2 separate regions of the Homo sapiens genome follow, and region 2 is linked to region 1. Evidence: promoter capture Hi-C in 16 types of primary human blood cells and fetal thymus (Javierre and others, 2016). All regions are on one chromosome and are shown on one strand. Each heading gives the region's core, a stretch centred on a gene start or on the middle of the fragment in contact. The rest is flanking DNA. Distances are from core to core; before and after follow the strand shown.

Region 1 (3,930 bases), core at 1,431-3,930:
AAACACTGGAAATTGCTGAAATATTCATCAGTAGGGGAATAAATTACGGTGCCTACATACTACGCCATTAAAAATAACAAGGCAGATTAGTTATTTATCCTGGCATAGTAAGATGACAAAGTGAAAAGGGCAAGCTGTAAACAGCTTGTATAATGATCCCATTTCTGTACAAACGAAGACCACATACAAAGTTATTGCCAGTTTTTTTATTTTATTTTACGTAAGAATGCTTCTTAAAAGTGTTAACTTTTTTGTTAGTTTCGTTTTTAGACAGGGTATTGCTCTGTCGTCCAGGCTGAGGTTCAGTGGTGCAATCACCACTCACTGCAGCCTTGACCTCCCAGGTCCATCCTCCTGCCTCAGCCTCCCAAGTAGCTGGGAGTACAGGCCCACACCACCACACTAACTCTAATTTTTGTAGAAACGAGGTCTTATTATGTTGCTCAGGCTGGTCTCAAACTCCGGGACTCAAGGGATCCGCCTGCCTTGGCCTCCCAAAGTGCTGGGATTACAGGCTTGAGCCACCATGCACCCCCTACTCTTCCTTTATTAGCATTTAACACTCAACTGTTTGTTTCTGGTTCCCTATGTTGTGAGCTCCTTGAAGGCAGGGACCACGACTTATGTGATTTTTTTTTTTTTCTGAGACTCGACAGAGTCTTGCTCTGTCAACCAGGCTGGAGTATAGCGGCACCATCTCTGCTCACTGCAACCTCCGCCTCCCAGGTTCAAGCGATTCTCCTGCCACAGCCTCCTGAGAAGGTGGGACTACAGGCACGTGCCACCATACCTGGCTAATTGTTTCTATTTTTAGTAGAGAAGGGTTTCACCAAGTTGGCCAGGCTGGTCTAGAACTCCGGATCTCAGGTGATCCGCCACCTTGGCCTCCCAAAGTGCTGGGATTACAGGTGTGAGGCACGGCGCCCGGCCTGACTTACGTGATTTTTGTATTACAAAGCCCTAGTACACTGCCTGGTAATATTAGACGTTTATTAACGGTTGGTTTAAACAAAAAACTTTATACCAGAGGTGATACTTGAGAAGGCAACACCTAAGATTGAAAAAAATCAGGTGTCTGTCAGCCAATGCAAAAGCATACAAAGGTGAAAAGGCGTATATGGGAAACTGCGGATAGTTCTGTGACTGGAATGCACAGTTAAAATTAATGAAAGAGAAAAGGCTGAAGAGGCAGCATGAGGATGCTTCCAAGGATAAAGTTCAAAATTCTTAGCGTAGCATATATACCAACAGACAAAGGCATGCCCTAACTAGCTTTGAAGCCTCACCTCCGGCTATTCTAGCTCCCTTAGCTATGGCTATATCCAATTAGTTGCAATTTCCTAAAAACATCATATTCTTCCACACCTTAGTATAGCCTTCCCCTGTGCTTTGTCCACTGCTCTCCTCCCATTTTCAAAACTCAGCTCAATTGCCACTTTCCCAAAGAAATTCTCTCTGATCTATCAGGTTAATATAGGAGGCTCTCCCCTACTGACTTCTACCTCATGGTTTCTCTGGCAGTCTGTTGACTTGTTTGGCTTCTCACTAAAGTCTAACTGGGGCTTTTCAACTCTGCATCTCCAGTTCTGTTTTTGTTTTAAATCGAGACGGGGTTTCACCATGTTGCTTGGGCTGGTATCAAACTTCTGAGCTCACGCAATCAGCCCACGCTGGCGTCCCAAAGTGCTGGGATTACACACGTGAGCCACCGAGCGTGGCAAACTCCATCTTTCTTGGTGCTAGATACTGACATACCTGCTGTGTCCCTGGATAAAGAAGCGGACCCCAATTCCCATTAAGCCCCCGTGGTACCATTTTCAAGTCCGAGGTCTTACGTTGCAGATTGTACATCCAGGTTCCCTGACCCGTAGGATTTAAAAGTGAGGTCAAATAATTAAACAAATTGTTTTAGTCAGACACTCTTGCGGCTACTCTGTAGCCAAACTGGGTGAAAACCTGACCAGAGGAGTCCACGGCCCTCTGTACATCAAAGACGGTCCAAACGTCTCACTGTTTAGCTCAGTCCCAGACACACTGAGCTCAATCTGCACGAATCAGCGAGGTCCAGGGCAGATAACATGTGTCTAGGGGCCTGGACTTGCACAAAAAGCCTTAACAACTTCACAATTTGATTAATTATGCCGCCTTGGACCACGCGTGAAAAACAGCAAGACCCAAGGCCTATGCTATTGGTCTGGGGACTAGACCCACCTGGCTCAAGCATTTTTTGCTCGCCACGTTCCCAAAAAGAGAAGAGGCGCCCGTAAGAGGGGGGGGGGGGGGGGCAAGACTGTTCCAAGAGCTTTCCCGTTCACACACAGCTCCCGCTGGGTCACTGTACTCGAGCCCTTCCCGCCCTCGCGGGCCCAGGCGGCCACCCCACAGGTTTGGGAACCCTAGGACTTGCAGTGCTCCTGGGCCATGCCCCACCAGCCGGAGACTTCCGCACTCTCAGGCTCGCTGAGTGGAGAAAAGGGCTCCAGAAGATTCCACGAGCGCCGGGAAGCCGCGCTAGCACCAACACCCACAAGGCCTTTCGGCGCAGCTCCTCCCGACCCGTGCGCCCCCGCGCCGTTGCCCAGGTAACGGCGGGGCGGTGGCAGCGGCCGAGAAGGGCGGGACTTCCGGCGGGTGACGCGCCCGGGTTCGGCTACAAAAGAGGACGGCTGCGGCGCGCCGGGCGGAACTTTCCAGAACGCTCGGTGAGAGGCGGAGGAGCGGTAACTACCCCGGCTGCGCACAGCTCGGCGCTCCTTCCCGCTCCCTCACACACCGGCCTCAGCCCGCACCGGTGAGTTTGAGCCCTCGCGCTGCCCCTAGTCCCCTGGCTGGCGCCATTGGCGCCGGGAAACCGATGGAGCCGCGGTCGGGAGGCAGTTGGCCGCGTGGGTAGGACCGCTGTCAGTTCCTGGGCCCACGATTTCCCTTTTGGAGGGCTGGTGTGGTGCCCTGGCAACCCATCCCCGGCACGCACAGTGAATGGGCCCGAGACCTTTCCTAGACCTCCCTCCTTCCCCAGCCTGGGATCTCCAAGGAGCTACTGTCTTCGGCTGCCCCTCCGTGCGCGCCCCCGCGGCCCCCCTCCCCGTCCGTGCTCGCTCGGGGTGGGGGGGGGGAGTGGGGTTGGCGACCCTGCGCACGCGCACAGGGAGGCAGGGGCGAGGGGCTGCGGGGGGAGCCGGGCGGAGACTGCGGCTTTTGGTTTCGCTTTCTCTGTTTCCCCTCCCTTTGTTTGTTGAGGGCTGGGCTTTCCCCACCGCCACTTGGGTCCAGGGTGGGAGGGAGAAAGGAAGGAAATCGGTCAGCGCCAAGTGCAAGGGGAAACCTGGCAGGTAAACTCTGCCAGCCTGAGGGGCGAGAGGGATTCGGCTGGAGAAGCTGTAAGCCGTGGGCGGTGGAGGGCTTGCTGTGTGGAGCCAGTAACCTGTTCTATAAACCACTCCCCCCCACCACTGTGTGCCCAGACGTCTTTTTCTGGAGAGTATATGGAGTTTATCAGATTTGCCAAAGACAGTGATAGTGTAATGACCGGTAGACTGAACATATCAGTGCTTCTTTTGGTTACAACTGTCACCGCCTCTAGGGCAAACGGGAAGAATCCAGATAATAGTTGTGTTATATTAGTATGGAAGCTTTGGTGTAGGAAAATTGGAACCAGCTGCTAGAAGGCGGCTCTCAGATTATTTCCCGATAATGATTATTTGTTTTGTCTGTTCGAGTTTATAGCTGAATTATCGCAGGAATTGTTACCTTTTTGGTGAAATTTAGGGAAGGTGGTGTTCTTATAATCGGATTTTGCAAAGAGATTGCTCGGCCTTAGCTCTCTTTTTTATTAAAAGCTACCAGTTGAAAGCCGGTTAAAGTTGCATTTTCTTATTTCAGGCAGTAGAAGATGGTGAAAGAAACAACTTACTACGATGTTTTGGGGGT
Region 2 (4,306 bases), core at 1,069-3,568, 3.4 Mb after region 1:
GGGTCATAAAGACATTCACCTATATTATTTCCTTAGAATTTTTATTATTTTCTCTTTTCCATTTGGATCTACACATCACCTGCAATTGATTTTTGGTGTTGGTGAGGAGGGAATCAAGTGCCCTCTTCCCCATACGGACATCTACTTGACACAGCATCATATACTGAAAAAGACTTGCCAACTGCTCCTTTGTTTAAAAAACTGTGGCCACATATGCATGAGTTTGTTTCTGGGTTCAGTAGTCTGTTGCACTGTTCTCTTTATCCCTGTGCTGATCCACACCATCGTCATTACTGCAGCTTTATAAGACTTCCTTTCATCTGTTACAGCAGGTTATCCTTCAGAGTGTCTACATTATCTCTGGCCTTTTAAATTTCCATAGGAATTTTAGAATCAAATTATTTCAAAAGAAGGAAAGAAAAAAAGACAAGGAAAAAGGTGAAATTGCTGGGATTTTCTTGGGCTGCATTAGATCTAGAAATGAGTTAAGGAATATAGGAAGATTAAATATTGTAAAGATAGCAATCTATAAGCTATTTACTTGAGTCTTTAATTCTTTCAATAATGCTTTATAGTTTTCTATCAAGGTCTTGCATATTTTAGTTCTTAGGTTTATTCTAGGTTTGTTAATATAATTCAATTATTAATTCTAATAGTTTATCTCAGTTCTTTTGAGTTTTCTATACAAACAATTCTGTTTATATCCTTGTCTACTTGGCAGAAAATACTGGCTGTTCCATTTCTTTCTTTCCAACATATACTCATTTTCTTGTCTTAGTGCACTGGCAACGACCTCTAGTACAGTGCTAACCAGACAGCTTTGTTTTATTCCAAACCTCAACTGAAAAACTGTCGACATTTAAGTACGGTGTTTGTAGTTTTGTTTTTTTTTAAGACCCCTTTAGAAAATTAAAGGAGTTCTCTGCCATTTCTAATATATTAAAAATTTATACATGGGCCAGGTGCAGTGGCTCACACCTGCAATCCCAGCACTTTAGGAGGTCGAGGTAGGCAGATCACCTGAGGTCAGGAGACCAGCCTGGCCAACATGGTGAAACGCCATCTCTACTAAAAACTACAAAAAATTAGCCAGGCATGGTGGCACGTGGCTGTACTCCTAGCTACTTGGGATGCTGAGGCAGGAGAATCACTTGAACCCAGGAGGCGGAGGTTGCAGTGAGCTGAAATCGTGCCTTTGCACTGCAGCCTGGGCAACAGAGAGAGACTCTGTCTCTTAAAAAAAAAAATTCATAAATGGATGTTTGATTTTATGAAAAACTTCTGTATCTACAAGTTAATCATATGACTTTTCTGTTAATATGTGAATTTGATTGGTTTGGGGGTGTTAGGAATTCACATTTCTAATCAGCCCATTTTAGGCTTACTGTATTGCTCTAAATGGTTGATTTGGTTTGTTTAGAATTTTTGCTTCTGTGTTGAGTGAGTTTACCTGTAATTTTCCATGTTTATAATGTCCCTATCAAGTTTTGTTACAAAGACTTATGCTAGCTTCAGAAAATGAATCAGGGAGTACTGGCTTGCTTTCTATTCTCTAGAAGTGTTTCTTTAAGACTGGTGTTAACGCCTTCTTTAAATGTTTGGGAAAATTTGCTGGTTGGCTAACTGGACTTGGAGTTAAATTTCCTTAGATGTCCTGTTTTTTCTTTATTTCTAACTAAGGCAAAACAACTGTAATCTTAGGATATATATATAAGAAAGATCTCATTCTGAAATTCACTATCTGCTTCTAGAAAACCATTTCCCAATCTTGTGAATTTGAAGGGTACCGTTGCTACAAATACATTTTAAAACACACTAAACAATAATCATAAACAAATTTAAATAAGTGCTAGTTAATAGTCTGTCAAATGGTAAATATACAGTTTATTTTTGTGACCAGTTTTGCATTTCTAGACATCAAGGAATATCTAAAATAATGGTTATCTGAAGGATCTTTTTACAAAAAAGTTGACTATGAGGTTACAGGCTGTCCTCCTTATCCCTCTACACACTTGTATCATAACACCTTACAGCGTTTATCAAATATCTGTTTCCTCCTGTTAAACTGTAAGCTCCTCAAGTCTCAGTTCTGCTTTGTTTGTATATCACTGACACCGATGTTGGGGGGAAGAATGGATGACGGAAAATGCACAAAAATGGAAAGAGGACCATCTCCTATTTTAAGGCATTGAAAGGCATGATTCAACAGCTACAGGTAAAGAACCACTTGTCCAAATGCTGAAGAACCATTCACATGGAAGGAAATGTCAAAGGAGGTGCTGGGGTAAAGAATGGCTTACCTGCTGGAAGTTCTGGACCTCTACTAATGAGAAGGCAGTTCCTCATTGGTTAACACTGTCAGTACTGTTCTGCCATCACATCCACATCCAAGTATCCCTACTATAATCTCACTCCAACAACCTCAATCTCTATTGCCGAGTTAGTGGCCTCTCCTGTGTGTTCTAAAATAGCATTAATCATTCTGCCTTCCAACTTTGTATTTACTTGACACTTCTGCCCAATAAATAGTAAACTTCTTGAAGCCAAGGACTAAGTCTTACCAAATCTGGCAAGGGGTTAGCACATACCATGTGCTTAATAAATAGTTCTGTTAATGATATGTAAATATTTCACAGCAGTGGCTGATTCTACGTTTCTCGCTTGGTAAATTCCCAAGGAGAAATGAAGCACAGGAACAACAGAAAGCGGGCAGTGAAAAGAGAGGAAAAGGGATGCAGAAAAAATAAATTTCAAAATCTTCCCTGAAGCTAGCTTTGCTGTCATCCCTAAGTTTCCTTTCTTCCTCCAAAACCAGCTAAAAGGACTGAATAACATAAAGCTGCACTGGGCCGGGCGCGGTGGCTCACGCCTGTAATCCCAGCACTTTGAGAGGCCAAGGCGGGCAGATCATTTGAGCTCAGGAGTTTGAGATTAGCCTGGACAGCATGATGAAACCCCATCTCCACCAAAAATACAAAAAAAACCCAAAAAACAAAAGATAAAGCTGCACTGAGGGAAAAGGCATATTGGCTGAACAGCATTTAGCCTACGCAGTATCTACAAGCATGCTACAACTTGATCTACTACTGCAAAACAATCAGCATAAGCAGTTTCACCCAGAAATGTTAACACAAATCAAAGTAGAAAAAGTTAATTAGTAGCAGCTGCCGGCTATAGCAGCTAGAGACCAGAAGAGGGCAGCAAAGGCTCACCCAAATCGAAGTCCACTGAAAGCCTCCCATATTATATAGCCACTTATCCAGCTTTGAGGTGAAGAGTTAGTCAGGTGGCTGTTTCCACAGTGCAGGTGAGAGATGACTTGGACTGAACCATGGTAGCTGGAATGACAGAGGGCAAGCTCATGGTAGTGAAGGTGTGAAGGGGCTAAAGCAGGTGGACAGTGAAAAGGCATCGGCCAGGAAGGAGTTCAAATGAAGAAACCTAAGTGCCTAGGACAGCCAAGTCAGAAGCAGAAAAACAGAGACCTATACCAATCAGAAGTGGAGACCCAAGGGCACAAATAAAGCATACACTGCACATCACAGCATATTCAACCTCTAGAACAGGGTAACCAGGCAGGAGCTGACCCTGAGGCAACAGGCCTCCACTAGATGGCCTGCTGTAACCTATACTCTTTGAAGCCACACTCTTGCTTGTTCTGTTCCGGAGAACAGACAGCACCTTGAGCTCAACTGTATGCTCCAGCAGCTTCATCTCAGGGGCAATCATATTCTGGCACTACAGTTTTTACCAAATCCAATGGAGACCCAGAGCACAAAAAAAAGTTAGCCACATACAGATCTAGGTTATTCTTTTCAACAAAGCCAATTCTTTCTTTGTTAGGGAGGAACCATCTCTGTATTTTTTTTAAATCCTGTATTACATTTAGGTTGTTCTCAGTGTTTTGCTATTACAAAGCTATTATTAATATTCTTGTACATACATATAGTTTGGCAAGCATTTGAAAATATATCCATAAAAGTACATTTCTAGAAGTAGAATTGCTGGTTCAAACAGTATGTGAATTTTCTTAAAATTTCAAGATATATTGCTACACTGCCTCCTAAAAGGCAGCATCAATTTTTTTAATTTTTTGAAACCTGTCACCCAGGTTGAGGTGCAGTGTCATGATCACAGCTCACTGCCCCCTTGAATTCCTGGGGGCTCAAGTGATCCTCCCGCCTCAGTGCTGAGTAGCTGGGACTACAGGCATACACCACCACAACAGACTTAATTTTTTTTTTTTTTTTTTGTAGAGACTAGGTTTCACCATGTTGCCAAGGCTGGCAATTTTTATTCAAAGCAA

Evidence for each region. The method cuts DNA at HindIII sites, captures the fragments that hold promoters and counts their contacts. A CHiCAGO score of 5 or more calls a contact.
Region 2: a fragment that was not itself captured here is called in contact with the fragment with the promoter of DNAJA1 in region 1 in 1 of 17 cell types (neutrophils); the score reaches 8.0 in neutrophils.

The regions. Positions count from the first base shown.
Region 1 is chr9:33,022,593-33,026,522 of GRCh38, forward strand. DNAJA1 (DnaJ heat shock protein family (Hsp40) member A1) reads left to right here and starts at 2,681. Exons shown (of 9, transcript NM_001539.4): 1 at 2,681-2,791; 2 at 3,883-3,930. The coding sequence starts at 3,893. It also overlaps a transcript of APTX not described here. RefSeq lists enhancers at 1,521-2,116, 2,439-2,733, 2,711-3,305, 3,262-3,331 and silencers at 2,592-2,741, 3,022-3,161. The HindIII fragment of the contact is 3,848 bases long and covers 1-3,630 here.
Region 2 is chr9:36,404,033-36,408,338 of GRCh38, forward strand. It overlaps LOC124902152 (a long non-coding RNA gene), which reads right to left. Exons shown (of 2, transcript XR_007061475.1): 1 at 1-4,306. It also overlaps a transcript of RNF38 not described here. Among named protein-coding and RNA genes, the nearest start is that of RNF38, 5.9 kb to the left of the region's middle. The HindIII fragment of the contact is 7,166 bases long and covers 1-4,306 here.